Regions from separate parts of the Homo sapiens genome. Here region 2 is linked to region 1. Evidence: promoter capture Hi-C in 16 types of primary human blood cells and fetal thymus (Javierre and others, 2016). All regions are on one chromosome and are shown on one strand. Each heading gives the region's core, a stretch centred on a gene start or on the middle of the fragment in contact. The rest is flanking DNA. Distances are from core to core; before and after follow the strand shown. Region 1 holds the start of EEF1G (eukaryotic translation elongation factor 1 gamma). Region 2 holds the start of UQCC3 (ubiquinol-cytochrome c reductase complex assembly factor 3).

What was found. Contacts are between HindIII fragments. The CHiCAGO score rates a contact against its expected background, and 5 or more counts as called.
Region 2: the fragment with the promoter of UQCC3 here is called in contact with the fragment with the promoter of EEF1G in region 1 in 11 of 17 cell types (total B cells, activated CD4 T cells, total CD8 T cells and 8 more); the score reaches 10.7 in total B cells.

The regions. Positions count from the first base shown.
Region 1 is chr11:62,572,354-62,579,870 of GRCh38, reverse strand. EEF1G (eukaryotic translation elongation factor 1 gamma) reads left to right here and starts at 5,980. Exons shown (of 10, transcript NM_001404.5): 1 at 5,980-6,040; 2 at 7,129-7,287. The coding sequence starts at 6,029. It overlaps TUT1 (terminal uridylyl transferase 1, U6 snRNA-specific), which reads left to right. Exons shown (of 9, transcript NM_022830.3): 5 at 841-1,310; 6 at 2,580-2,689; 7 at 2,854-2,964; 8 at 3,122-3,214; 9 at 3,627-4,819. The coding sequence ends at 4,777. RefSeq lists enhancers at 3,933-4,894, 5,052-5,111, 4,895-5,856, 5,812-6,011. The HindIII fragment of the contact is 8,528 bases long and covers 1-6,921 here.
Region 2 is chr11:62,670,407-62,677,755 of GRCh38, reverse strand. UQCC3 (ubiquinol-cytochrome c reductase complex assembly factor 3) reads right to left here and starts at 6,083. Exons shown (of 2, transcript NM_001085372.3): 1 at 5,891-6,083; 2 at 4,070-5,803. The coding sequence starts at 6,010. The coding sequence ends at 5,642. LBHD1 (LBH domain containing 1) reads left to right here and starts at 5,489. Exons shown (of 7, transcript NM_024099.5): 1 at 5,489-6,192. UBXN1 (UBX domain protein 1) reads left to right here. Exons shown (of 9, transcript NM_001286077.2): 7 at 122-238; 8 at 751-943; 9 at 1,117-1,256. The coding sequence ends at 1,166. RefSeq lists a silencer at 5,280-5,409 and enhancers at 5,650-5,809, 5,176-5,917, 5,918-6,657, 6,658-7,349. The HindIII fragment of the contact is 2,853 bases long and covers 4,425-7,277 here.

The DNA.
Region 1 (7,517 bases), core at 4,731-7,230:
AACATGGTGAAATGCTGTCTCTACTAAAAATACAAAAATCAGCCGGGTATGGTGGCACGTACCTGTAATCCCAGCTACTCAGGAGGCTGAGGCAGGAGAGACAGCTTGAACCCAGGAGGCGGAGGTTGCAGTGAGCCGAGATCGCGCCACTGCACTCCAGCCTGGATGACAGATTGAGACTCCATCTCAAAAAAAAAAAAAAAAAAATGGACTTTATTTTTTAGAGCAGTGTTAGATTCACAGCAAAAGTGAGCAGAAAGTAGTTTCTATATGCCTGCTGCCCCCGCAACAGGAGTTTTAAAATGTTTTATCATTATTTTTATCTTTCTCTACACACACACACTCTCTATTTATATTTTCTGAATCATCTGAGAGAAGGTTGCATGTATCACATTCCTTTACCCCTCAATACTTCAATGTGTGTTATGCAAGAACAAAGGTATTCTAGTGTAAAGGTATTCTAGTGTATAACCACAGTACCATTATCAAGTTGAGGAAATGTTACATTGACACAGATGTAAACCTTTACAGACTTTACAGTCCATACTCTAATTTGGTCAGCTGTCCTGTCAATGGACTGTTACAGTTTCTCTTTCGTCTGTAATAGTTCCTCTGTTTTTGTCTTTCACGACAATGACATTTTTTGCAGAGGTAGACCTTTTATTTTATAGAATTAAAAGGTTATCTTTAAAAAAAAAAAGGGTTCCTGTGAAGATTAAATGAGTTAATATGTATAAAGACCTTAGAATAGAGCTGAATAAGCTGGAAGTAATATTATCTTGAGAGATCCCTGCTTAGGGAACAGCAGAAACATTTCACTCAGTTCATTTCTGTCCACAGCCAGTCCCAAAGGCTCCAGAATCTCCATCGCTGGACTCGGCCCTGGCTTCCCCACTGGACCCTCAAGCCCTGGCCTGCACCCCAGCTTCCCCTCCAGATTCACAACCTCCTGCTTCTCCCCAGGATTCTGAAGCCCTGGACTTTGAAACCCCTTCCTCCTCCCTGGCGCCCCAAACTCCGGACTCTGCCTTGGCCTCCGAGACCCTTGCTTCTCCCCAGTCTCTGCCTCCAGCTTCACCACTGCTAGAGGACAGGGAAGAGGGGGACCTGGGGAAGGCCTCGGAACTAGCAGAGACCCCAAAGGAGGAGAAAGCAGAGGGGGCAGCAATGCTGGAGCTGGTGGGATCCATTCTCCGGGGCTGTGTCCCTGGGGTGTATCGAGTCCAAACTGTGCCCTCTGCCCGGCGCCCTGTGGTCAAGTTCTGTCATCGGCCTTCAGGTCTCCACGGTGATGTCTCCCTCAGTAACCGGTACCTTTCTTTTTTTTGAGACGACATTTCACTCGTTGCCCAGGCTGGAGTACAGTGGTGCCATCTTGGCTCTCTGCAACCTCTGCCTCCCAGGTTGAAGTGATTCTCCTGCCTCAGCCTCCCAAGTAGCTGGGATTACAGGCATGCGCCACCACGCCTGGCTAATTTTGTATTTTTAGTAGAGACGGGGTTTCTCCATGTTGGTCAGGCTGGTCTTGAACTCCCGACCTCAGGTGATCACCTGCCTCGGCCTCCCAAAGTGCGGGGACTACAGGCGTGAGGCACCATACCTTTCTTTGGGGCAGGCCAGCTGAGAATTCTGGGATGGGCCAGGAGAGTCTGGCTTGGGAAACTCCTGCACCTGCCAAGTCTCAAGTTTGTCCTTGTTTGGGACCATCCCTCTTTCTGTCCCTTATCTCCTCCTGCCTGGCTTCCATTTCAGTGTTTGTAAAGTGTGTTCCTTAGAATACTACTTTTTTTTTTTTTTTTTTTTTTTTGTGAGACGGAGATTTACTCTTGTTGCCCAGGCTGGAGTGCAATGGTGCGATCTCAGCTCACTGGATCCTCTGCCTCCCAGGTTCAAGCGATTCTCCTGCCTCAGCCTCCCGAGTAGCTGGGATTACAGGCATGTGCCACCACACCCAGCTAATTTTGTATTTTTAGTAGAGATGGGATTTCGCTGTGTTGCCCAGGCTGATCTCGAACTCCTGACCTCAGGTGATCTGCCCGCCTCGGCCTCCCAAAGTGCTGGGATTACAGGCGTGAGGCACCGCGCCCTAGAATACTACTTTCAAGGGATGTAGAAAAGAGCTCTGCGTTGAATAAATTTGGGAAATTCAAAGTTAGATGCAAAAAGGTTTCTCCATTTCCTCCCTTCGCCCCTTGCCCTCTCTCCTTTCCTTCCTTCCTCTCTCTTTTCCTGTCTTTGTTTCTTTGCATAGTAAAGGCTCTGGGCAGTCTTTTTTTTTTTTTTTCTGACATGGGATGTTGCTCTGTCACCCAGGCTGGAGTGCAGTGGTGTGACCATGGCTCATGAACAGTCTTATAATAATGTGCTGTGAATGTCCAGGATGGGCGTACAGGATGAAGTGTTTCCCGAACTCCTTTGTCCTTTCGCACACTGTCTCACAAGATCAGTGAGCAACATTTGGGGAAACTGTTCTGGCCTTATTCCAGCTGGCTCCAGTTATGCAAGTCTGGAATGAAAGCTGGGGGTGGTAGGTTCTGACATCCCCAAGCGCTAACACCCTTGTCCCTGCTTTGTCCCAGGCTGGCCCTGCATAACTCCCGTTTCCTGAGTCTCTGCTCTGAGCTGGATGGTCGAGTCCGGCCCCTCGTGTACACCCTCCGCTGCTGGGCTCAGGGTCGGGGGCTGTCAGGTGAGAATGGATCAGGACAGACTTGGGGCTGAGTTGGTCTCAGGACAAAGGCAGGGATTCAGGGAGAGAAGGGAGGTCAGAATGGGCACCGGGGTTGAGAAAACTGCCAGTGAGGGGATTAGAAGCACCTCTGATCTAACCGGAATTATTGCTTATTTACCCAGGGAGTGGCCCCCTTCTCAGTAACTACGCCCTGACCTTGCTGGTGATCTATTTTCTTCAGACCAGGGACCCTCCTGTGTTGCCCACTGTGTCCCAGCTCACCCAGAAAGCAGGTACTCGGCCTAGCCTCCACCCTCTCCATCTTGTTAGTTTCCTCTCTCTTCTTCATCACACTTAGATACACCAAGCAGCTCTGTGAATGAGATCTCTCTACCCCCACCCTCAATCTCCTTGCTTCCAGACTGACTCTCACCTTATTTACTTTCACAGGAGAGGGGGAACAGGTGGAAGTCGATGGCTGGGACTGCAGTTTCCCCAGGGATGCCTCAAGACTGGAGCCCAGCATAAATGTGGAGCCCCTCAGTGAGTTTGGGGAGCCTGGTAGAGGACTAGTAATGATGTTCATCAACAGTAGGTAACATATATCACACTAACTGTGTGCCAGGCATGGTTCTCACAGAAAGCCTGTGAGATACCTAATATTATTACTGCCATTTTACAGATGAAGAAACCATGTTTGGGAGCAATTAAGTGACTTGCCCAAGGTTACACTGGCTAGCAAGGAGCAGCAGCATCTGGGCAAGGACATCATGTGGGGGCAGGGAGAGAGGTTTGACCTCTTGTTTATAGGGATCAGAGAAGCCTAGCTTCCTGGGACTCTGCTGAGCCCCTTGGAAGGGAAAAAGTCCTGCTAAGGAAATGGCTCTGGTGCAGGACCTGTATCAGTTCTGGCCTCTAAGTGACCCCCCTTTCCCCACTCTTCCTCCTCCTCCAGGTTCCCTGCTAGCCCAGTTCTTCTCCTGTGTATCTTGTTGGGATCTTCGTGGCTCCCTGCTGTCCCTGCGGGAGGGTCAGGCACTGCCTGTGGCAGGGGGCCTGCCTTCTAATCTCTGGGAGGGTCTGCGCCTTGGCCCCCTGAATCTCCAGGACCCTTTTGACCTGAGTCACAATGTCGCAGCCAATGTGACCAGCCGGGTGGCTGGGCGCCTACAGAACTGCTGCCGAGCAGCAGCCAATTACTGCCGAAGCCTCCAGTACCAGCGCCGTTCCTCCCGGGGTCGGGACTGGGGGCTGCTCCCTCTTCTGCAGCCCAGCTCCCCCAGCTCCCTGCTCTCTGCTACGCCGATCCCTTTACCCCTTGCACCCTTCACCCAGCTCACTGCTGCCCTGGTGCAGGTATTCAGGGAAGCACTGGGGTGCCATATAGAACAGGCAACCAAGAGAACGCGGTCAGAAGGAGGTGGAACTGGGGAGTCCTCTCAGGGAGGGACAAGCAAAAGACTCAAAGTAGATGGACAGAAAAACTGCTGTGAGGAGGGGAAAGAGGAGCAGCAGGGATGTGCAGGGGACGGTGGGGAAGACAGGGTAGAAGAGATGGTTATAGAGGTTGGAGAGATGGTGCAGGACTGGGCCATGCAGAGCCCTGGGCAGCCAGGGGACCTGCCCCTGACCACTGGAAAGCATGGAGCCCCTGGAGAAGAGGGGCAGCCCAGCCACGCAGCCCTGGCAGAGCGGGGGCCCAAGGGACATGAGGCAGCCCAAGAATGGTCTCAGGGTGAGGCAGGGAAGGGGGCATCCCTGCCCTCCTCAGCGAGCTGGCGCTGTGCCTTGTGGCACCGAGTGTGGCAAGGGCGGCGGCGAGCCCGTAGACGCTTGCAGCAGCAAACCAAGGAGGGAGCTGGAGGTGGCGCTGGCACAAGAGCAGGGTGGCTGGCGACTGAGGCTCAGGTCACCCAGGAGCTGAAAGGACTGAGTGGTGGCGAAGAGAGGCCAGAAACTGAGCCCCTGCTGAGCTTTGTGGCGTCTGTCTCCCCGGCTGACCGAATGCTCACTGTGACCCCGCTCCAGGATCCCCAAGGCCTGTTCCCTGATCTCCATCATTTCTTACAGGTTTTCCTCCCTCAAGCAATTCGACATCTCAAGTGAAGACATGGCCCCTGAAGGGCAATAAAGCTGCTAGTTTATTAATACAGTCTCCCGTTTCCTTTCATTTCCATCTGGTCATAATCCCCCTTCCCCTCCCCCAGAACTTCCTGCAGCTGCTCCCGTCTGACCCCGAACATGGGTCTCTCCCTGTTGCTCTCCACCCCACCAGCTTCTCCTTCCTACAGTTCGCACAGCTCGAGGGGAGTGCGGGGGCAGCACCGCGCGTGGCACCTGGCACCCGCGCAGAGTTCCTGAATGGCAGAGCGGTGGGTGGCTCCAGCAGTACTGAGAAGAGCCAGGTTTGCCTCCACATTCTTCCTGTCGCCTCAGATTTATGCGCACAAGGACGGAGATTTGCGTTCAGCGTTCTTCATTCTCTCCTTTAAACGAGGAGAGTTCATCCCGTTCTTAAACTGGGTAAGAGATTTCAAACCTGAACATGGGTCAAAAGCCATGAACATCAGAAGCGACGATGTCAGGTCTTCCAGCGTCAGCCCCTCCAGGGGCCGAGTCCGGAGGAGGTGGGAGGGACAGGGCGCGTTCTCCCTCATGTCCCTGCCCTGCTTCGGGCCGGAGGGCCGGTGCCCTGCTCGCAGTAACAGCACCCTGGAGCTGTCAGGGGTTGGATGTGAGCAAACCTCACTTTGGCAGGCGGGTTCAGACCGGGGCCCCTGTTAGACGCTCATCCCTTTCTGGAGGAAAAGCAGAGCAGGAACTAAAGGGATTTAGCACACACACTGCCACCTCCGCGCAGCAGCTGTTCCTCGCTCCCATGAGTTTCATAGAATCATGTGAGGGGCTTGGCAAAATCTACCATCAAGTCACTTGTCCCTGGGAGGGCCAGAGAGGGACGCCCCCAGTAGCACTGGCCGCGCCGGGCCAACAACCGCGCCACGTAGCCAAGAACTCGCGGCTTTTCCAGCGGGTTCTCACAACTTCCCCGCCCTCCACGCTGTCTACCTCCACGTCTAGACTCCGATTGGCCCGCTGCACCTGGGGGGCGGGCCAGTCAAGAGCTCCAATGCGCAGGCCCGAGCTTTTTCCGCGCTGGCCAGCAGGCCCCACCCACCCAGTTCTTTTTCCAATTCAGCGCCACTGGATACCGAACTGTCGTACGTATGTCTTCTGTTTCGTCCTCGCTTTCCGGCTGCTGTTTCTCCACGGCTCTCCTCTTTCCCCCTCCCTTCTCTCCCGGGCGGCTTACTTTGCGGCAGCGCCGAGAACCCCACCCCCTTTCTTTGCGGAATCACCATGGCGGCTGGGGTAAGTTTGCTGGCTCTGGTGGTTCGGGTCATCCTATCCACCGCCATCCTTTGCCCGAGTGGGGCCAGTCGGCGCCAGAGGAGTTCTGAGGTTGAGTGGGGAACTGATTCGGGGGTCTACAGACTGTACTGCTGGAGAGTAGGGTTCCTAGGGCCTGGAGGGGAACTGAGGCTGGGGCTCTCGGAGGCCAGAGGTGGAAGGGTCTGGGGAAGAGGAGAAAAGAGATGCCGGGTCTGGGCCGTCCGAAGCCTGAGAAAGGGGTTCGGCTCTGTTGCCGCTTTGAGGCGTGGTATCTGGGCAGGTTGACGAACTTCTGTGTCCGTTTTGTGGAGTAACACAGGGGACAGGTTGAAGAGGAGGGTCTTTGTAGGCAGGTCCGGCTGGCACGGTTAAAGGTCGTCTCTCAGGGAGGTTTGGGAGCGAGAGGATTCTCCGGACAGTGAAGTCAGACCAATTGGACTCCGCTGGCCGGCATAATAGAGAAGCCCAACGCCGGGGAACTCGCTGCGGGACAGGACCGGAGGGATGATATTCGCGACACGGAAAGAAAGGCTTTTTGAGAGAGAGGAGTTGATTTAAGAAGACGGCATGCCATCCCCTATCTCTGGCTAGTCTGAGGGGAACTAGAAATCTCTCGATCGTCGTGCGTGCCTTAGAGACAGGACGATGCTTTTGAAGCGGTGAGCAGCTGAGCAGTAGAGTAGGCAGGCGCTCGGAACCATCAATGAATGAAGCGAGGGCTCCGGGAAGGGAGGAGAGTATGTTTGTAGGCAGATGGAGTCTGATGGAGCTAGAAGTTCTGGATTTCTTGGAGATAGATTTGAGAGGAAGAGAATACTTCCAGAGGTGTCCTTAGGGAAGGTCAAATCTGTCAACAAGCTTTATTTAGCAGTTGGTGTGTAGTTCTGTTCTTGGTATTTCGGAGGATTCTGATTACATATGACAAGTACTAAAGGACTTGGTTCACCAGAGGAAGTAAAAGGGTGAGTTGAATACATTGGGATTATTCAGGAAAGTCATCCTGGAGAGTGGCATTAAGGACTGGGACCCTTCTACTCATTAATTTTGTCCCTCTCTTTCTCCCATAGACCCTGTACACGTATCCTGAAAACTGGAGGGCCTTCAAGGCTCTCATCGCTGCTCAGTACAGCGGGGCTCAGGTCCGCGTGCTCTCCGCACCACCCCACTTCCATTTTGGCCAAACCAACCGCACCCCTGAATTTCTCCGCAAATTTCCTGCCGGCAAGGTGAGTTGGGAGATGGGGAGCATCCTTCGGTTCTGAGAAACCAAGGCCCTGCGATTCTGTCACTCTGGTGGTGGCCCCCATCTCTAAAAGGGAGCTTCCCATGTTGTTTTATTCAATTTCGGTGATTTTATTTTGAGATAAATACAGATTTACATGTAGTTGTGAAAAAAAATACAGAGCTATTCTGTGACTTTATAAAATTCACGAGTTTACTTTGTGGGAAAGAGAAT
Region 2 (7,349 bases), core at 4,834-7,333, 98 kb before region 1:
GTAATGGAGTGGGCAGGTTAGTAAATCTTTTCCAGCTTCAGAGGGAAAGCATGGGCTTATATGATCTGTTTCACCTGAGGATGGGTGAGTACCTGATTGACTGTTTTACTTTGCCCTTTAGTATGGTGGCAGTGTGGGCTCTCAGCCACCCCCAGTGGCACCAGAGCCAGGTCCTGTTCCCTCTTCTCCCAGCCAGGAGCCTCCCACCAAGCGGGAGTATGACCAGTGTCGCATACAGGTACTGATTCTAATTCTTATCTTCCTCTTGGGACCCCTTTGTTCCGTGTTAAGGTGCCCAGCTCAGAGCTTTTTTCAGTTAACGTGCCCTTTGCCAAATCTCTCCCTTCTTTGTAAATGACTTTTGAAATCCTATCTCTACTCTTGGGAAAGGTATCAAATTTCACCTGCCCCAGTTGTATTTAAACCCATACCTCTCTCTTACTCAGCAGTTACCCTTTTACTTGTTCATGTTTTTATTTGGTTTATTATGTAGCTATCTGGTGATGTGGTATTTATCCAGATTCTTTTGTATAATCTTATCCTTGTCTTTCTTAGGTTGTGAGGGAGCTGGGAGTCTCTCATCCGCACTTAGTAAAGCGGAGCCTAAGTGGCTGTTCATTTGGTGCTTTAAATAGTAGTTGTGCTGGTTCAATCTAAGAAGAAGGGGGCCCAGCTTTAGCTCTTTTCCTTACTTGGGCACCTCATTCAGTTTTGATGCCCACAATACTGAGTATCTCCCTTGCCCTTTAGGTCAGGCTGCCAGATGGGACCTCACTGACCCAGACGTTCCGGGCCCGGGAACAGCTGGCAGCTGTGAGGCTCTATGTGGAGCTCCACCGTGGGGAGGAACTAGGTGGGGGCCAGGACCCTGTGCAATTGCTCAGTGGCTTCCCCAGACGGGCCTTCTCAGAAGCTGACATGGAGCGGCCTCTGCAGGAGCTGGGTATGGCTGCAAGACTAGAAACCAGGACTAGAAACTGGGGGAGTAGGGAGGCATGCCTAGGAAAAGGAGGGATGCAAAGAGAAGGGGCTTTGTGAACATGGTGCAAGGCCAGGAATTTTGGGAGCAAAAACCAAGTATCCTTGTGGTTCAAGCCTGTTTTCTTCCATCTTCAGGACTCGTGCCTTCTGCTGTTCTCATTGTGGCCAAGAAATGTCCCAGCTGAGGGCCTTTGTCCCATTGTCCCTCTGTGACCCCTTCATCTTTGATAAAGCACTGACATCTCCTTCCTAATAAATAGACCCTGAGTTCTGTACATGCCTGACTCCTTCCTGAATGGCTGGGAGGGACAAAACTAAGGCAGAGGAAGAGGCTAAAACGGAACAGTAGACCCTCTTCCTCATCTTTAGTTTCCAACAAAGACACTTGTTTGTAATCTCTGGGTCTGATTAACTGCTGGGGAAGTTGCGGAGGAGAGGTGCTAAAAGGGGTGGAGAGTACATTGGATGGCACCTTTTACTCCTATGGTAAGACAGAAAATAAAAGCCCAGCTGCTGCTTTTTTATTTTTATTTTTGAGACGGAGTCTTGCACTGTTGCCTGGGCTAGAGTGCAGTGGCGCAATCTCAGCTCACTGCAACCTCTGCCTCCCAGGTTCAAGCGATTCTCCTGCCTCAGCCTCCCTAGTAGCTGGGATTACAGGCACCCACCACCACGCCCAGCTAATTTTTTCCATTTTTAGTAGAGACGGGGTTTTGCCATGTTGGCTAGGCTGGTCTCAAACTCCTGACCTTGTGATTCGCCTGCCTTGGCCTCCCAAAGTGCTGGGATTACAGGCATGAGCCACCACGCCCGGCCTGCTGCTTTATTTATTTATTTATTTATTTATTTATTGAGAACATGAGAGTGCCTTTTCATTTTAAAAATGTTTGGAAATATGCACAACTTTGATACAGCTTTGGGGTGCTCCAGACACCCATGGCCACTTCATGTAAACCACTGAGAATTTCTTTTTTTTTTTTTTTTTTGAAATGGAGTCTTGCTCTGTCACCCAAGCTGGAGTGCAGTGGCACAGTATTGGCTCACTGCAACCTCCGCCTCCTGAGTTCACGGGATTCTTCTGCCTCAGCCTCCCAAGTATCTGGGATTACAGGCGCGCACCACCATGCCCAGCTAATTTTTTGTATTTTTAGTAGAGTCAGCGTTTCACCATGATGGCCAAGCTGGTTTCAAACTCCTGACCTCAAGTGATCCACCCGCCTCGGCCTCCCAAAGTGCTAGGATTACAGGCGTGAGCCACCACGCCCGGCCACCACTGACAATTTTTAGAGTACTTTGAGAGACTATACAATATCATGATCAAATTTTGTAATTAAACCTAATGAGGACAACAGGCACTTCTCAAATAAGAGATGTGTCCATTACGGGGCTCCCCTACTCTTAAGGTACTCACAAGGAGGCAGATAAACAGTTTCTTTTTTTTTTTCCTTTGAGATGGAGTTTTGCTTTTGTTGCCCAGGCTGGAGTGCAATGGAGCGATCTCAGCTCACTGCAACCTCCACCTCCCGGGTTCAAGCGATTCTCCTGCCTTAGCCTCCTGAGTAGGTGGGGTTACAGGCATGCACCACCACGCCCAGCTAATTTTTTTTTTTTTTTTTTTTTAAGAGACAGGGTTTCACCTTGTTGGTCAGGTTGGTCTTGAACTCCTGACCTCAGATGATCCGCCCGCCTCTGCCTCCCAAAGTGCTGGGATTACAGTCTTGAGCCACTGTGCCTGGCCAGATAAACAGTTTCTTTATTCATCCTCCTCCTCTTCATCTTCCTCTTCCACCTTTTTCCAGGCAACTTTAGCAGGACCCTTTGCATCATCAAACCAACCTTTCTACTTATAGTCAGGAACATCCTTCTTATACTTTTCCTTCAGCTTTGCTACCTTAGTGATGTCATTTAAGTTATTTCACATCTCACCCAGAAAACCTAGCTTCTTAATAGAATAGGAATAGTGCCTATTTCTTGGGATTGTCATGAGGGTTACATAATGCTGGTATAAGATGCTTTAGCATAGTGCCTGGTACCTAATAAGTCCCCAGTAAGCATTAGCTACTAAAAGGATAATTTTATTTACTTATTTGAGGTGGAGTCTTGCTCTAGATCCCAGGCTGTAGTACAGTGGTGCAATCTCGGCTCATTATAACCAACGTCTGCCGGGTTCAAGCAATTCTGCCTCAGCCTCTCGAGTAGCTGGGATTGCAGGTGTGTGCCACCACACCCAGCTAATTCTTTGTATTTTTTAGTAGAGATGGGGTTTCACCATGTTGGCCAGGCTGGTCTTGAACTCCTGACCTCAAGATCCACCTGTCTCAGCCTCCCAAAATGCTGGGCTAAAAGGGTTTTGTTTTTTTGTTTTTTTTTTTTGAGACATCTCCTCACTCTGTTACCCAGGCTGGAGTGCAGTGGCACGATCTCGGCTCACCGTAACCTCTGCCTCCTGAGTTCAAGCGATTCTCCTGCCTCAGCCTCCCGAGTAGCTGGGACCACAGGCACGTGCCGCCATGCCCAGCTAATTTTTGTATTTTTAGTAGATACAGGGTCTCACCATGTTGGCGCTTCTCTCTGCTTTTTAAAACCAACCAAGAAGCACTGATGAGCTTATCTATGATAGTCCCTCTGGCTGCTGATCACCCCACCCTGCTGTCCTGTCAAACTGCTCCTGACTCCACTCCTTCCTGGACTAGGAGAAAGGCCACAGTTACTCTGTAAAGATCACATGTAACATGTGTTCCAGCAGCTGAAAAGAGCACCAATACTTATATCTGGGTTTACACCCCAGTGTTAGAAAGCTTTATTTGGGCCAGGCACGGCGGGTCATGCTTGTAATCCCAGCACTTTGGGAGGTTGAGGCGGGCAGATCACCTGAGGTCAGGAGTTCAAGACCAGCCTGGCCAACATGGTGAAACCCTGTATCTACTAAAAATACAAAGATTATCCTGGCATAGTGGCGCACCCCTGTAGTCCCAGCTACTGGAGAGGCTGAGGCAGGAGAATCGCTTGAACCCAGGAGGCGGAGGTTGCATTGAGTTGAGATCGCTCCATTGCACTCCAGCGTGGGCAACAACACAGAAATTCTGTCTCAAAAAAAAAAAAAAAGCTTTATTTGGTGTTCTGACTTTAATAACAGCAGCCTTTTTTTCAATTGCAGTCTTGCTTGGGAACCACAGGATAGACAAAAGAGGAGCAACTTGGTTGACTAGGCTGTGGGGCTTTGACCCCACTTATTTAATCCCCTCAGTGGCAGCTCCAATAAATCCTGACCAGATCCAGAGATTGGGGACCACTTTACATTTCTAAATTAATGTTTTACAATAATCCTCGTAGTTATGACCTTTCATAGAACAGGGCTGAGGTTTGTAACATGCTGGAGTTCAACCAGGATCTGTGACTCAAAGCACACTCCTTTTACTACTAGTAAGTCAGCCTCCTAAGCTTGTTTAACCAGAGGTTAAATAATGGCCACAGAAAGCATTGTGGCATATGTTAAGTGCTAGATGCCCCTCCAATCTCGCTCCAAGGACAGGAGTCCTGAGTGTCCACTATAGGCATCCATTACTTCAAGACTTCCCAGGATAGTTCAGATTTCAAGAATGTCCCACGGTTATCCCTGGAAGTACACTCCAACCTGACACCACATGACCTGTTTTGAAAATGTGGTTGGCCGGGCGCAGTGGCTCACGCCTCTAATCCCAGCACTTTGGGAGGCTGAGACGGGTGAACTGCCTGAGGTCAGGAGTTCGAGATCAGCCTGGCCACATGGTGAAACCCGCCTCTACTAAAACTACTAATATCAGCCGGGCGTGGTTGCGGACGCCTGTAATCCCAGCTACATGGGAGGCTGAGTAAGGAGAACAGCTTGAACCCAGGAGGCAGAGGTTGCAGTGAGCCAAGATTGCGCCACTGCACTCCTGCCTGGGTGACAAGAGCAAGACTCCATCTCAAAAAAAAGAAAAAATGTGGCCGCGGCAGGGCGAGGTGGTTCACGCCTGTAATCCCAGCCCTTTGGGAGGCCGAGGCGGGCGGATCACCTGGGTCTGGAGTTCGAGACCAGTCTAGCCAACATGGTGAACCCTGTCTCAACTAAAAACACAAAAGTTAGCTGGGCTTGGTGGCGCGCACTTGTGATCCCGGCTACTCGGGAAGCTGAGGCAGGAGAATTGCTGGAACCCAGGGGCGGAGGTTGCAGTGAGCCGAGATCGTGCCACTGCACTCCAGCCTGGGTGACATTGACTCCGTCTCAAAAAAAAAAAAAAAAAAAAAATGTGGTCAGATACCTATCGGGATCAGCCTCTTCTGGTGGGGTGGGACAGGCAGCAGCTCCAGGCCGCGCCCCCAGCACCGACCACGCGTCTCTAAGCATTGGTAGGTGTCGACTGCAGGGCTCATTCTGGGTGGAGGAACATGATTTTATTGGTTCTTTCAGTTCACCACATCCGACTCGCGTCTCGGCCCTGGCCCGCCTTGCGGACCTTAAAGCAGTCAGTCCAGGGTTTGGGGGAAACGTGCTCACCCGACGGCAGCTCACAGGACCCCGGAGAGTCCTGGCATGGTATCTCGGTCCGGACTCTCCGCTGGGCCCACGAAGGAGAAAGGCTGCCTCGGATTCCTGCGCCCAAGCCAAGGTCCGGCGCCCACGGAGGCAAGTCCGGTCTCACGGTGACCTCCCGCCGGCGCCGCCTTCGCCGCCAACCATCCAGTTCTTCCTCCAGGCCACGTTCTCCTGCGTGGTCGCTGCCTCCTGCAGAGTGGCCAGCAATAGCTGCTGGGTCCTGGCCGCCTCCTCCCTGCTCCTTGGGTCCTGCAGTGGCATCTCCTGAGGGCAGGAAGGGGAGTTCGCAGGAGCTCCAGTCCGGGGCTCTCCACCCGCCCACCCTTCCTCGGGACTACCAGTTGCTTCTACCTTTAGCATTTCCTGCTTCCGCCGCTCTCCCGGGGTCACGATAACGAGGAGCGCGTAGCCCACGCCAGCCCCTGCGCCCAGCATTGCGACTGAGATCAGCATTTTCCGCAAGGAATCCATGGCCGCCTGCACAGCCAGCGGAGCGCCCACGGGAGCTCCCCGCAGCCGCAAGCTGTTGCCGCGCGGTCTCACTACCCCTTGGCGCAGGCTAGAGCGCCCTATAGCAGAAACCATAGATAAGCGGCCGGCTAGAGAGGACCTGCTCGAGGAAACGTTTGGAATCCGGAGCGCTTGGATCTCAGGTTTAGCTGAGGGGGTTGAGGTGTCCAAGAAGTGCTGGCACCAAGGGCTGAGCGCGGGGACCCTGTGTCCTCAATTCCGGGGTGGGATTGCTAGGGGGAGAGTGCGTGTCTTCATGGTTGCCGTGGGTTTTATGATTGCCCATTTTTCTGTCTTCCGACGTTTCCCGATCAGTAGAGGCCCGAGCTGTGCTCTGTGGTTTCCTGCAGTCACCCGCGCGTTTTCAACACAGCGCATGGAGGGCATCTACACACATACACATCCCTCTCCATCCCCTCAACTCTGGAACAAACACTCAAAGTCAAGTATACTGGTTGGAGAAATGGGTAATAGTTACTTATCTTTAACATTTATTTTACAAACAACCTATTCCTTTTCTCGTCATGGTACACACTTGGTATTGTTTGGGTTTTTTTTTGGTTTTGTTGTTGTTGTTAGTGTGTGGGCGTGGTTTTGTTTGTTTTTGGAGACAAGGTCTCGCTCTGTCGCCCAGGGCTGGAGTGCAGTGGCGCGATCATGGCTCACTGAAGCCTCGACTTCCAGGGCCCAAGCGATCCTCCTGCCTCAACCTCCCGGATAGCTGGGATTACAGGCGTGCACCACCACGCCCGGCTGGTATTGCTTTTTGTTTTGCTTCGTTTTCTTTTTTGCTTTTTGAGACAGAGTCTCACTCTGTTGCCCAGCTGGAGTGCAGTGGCGTGATCTCGGCTCACTGCAAGCTCTGCCTCCCGGGTTCACGCCATTCTCCTGCCTCAGCCTCCCGAGTAGCTGGGACTACAGGCGCCCGCCACCACGGCCGGCTAATTTTTTGTATTTTTAGTAGAGAAAGAGTTTCACTATGTAGGTCAGGCTGGTCTCGAACTCCTGACCTCGTGATCCGCCCAATCCGCCCACCTCGGCCTCCCAAAGTGCTGGGATTACAGGTGTGAGCCACCGCGCCCGGCTGTTTTGCTTTGTTTTCAACCACTAAAAGGCTGGATTCGTGTAACATACTGAATTCTGCTTTACAGAAGAAAACACCTCTTAGCTGTGTGACTGATTATAGGCAAGTTCTTGTGCCCCGGTTTCTGCATCAGAAAATGAAGCTTATAACAACAGTACTTGTCTCACAGTTTTAGGATAATTAAATTAGTTATATGTAAAGCAATTAAAACAGCTC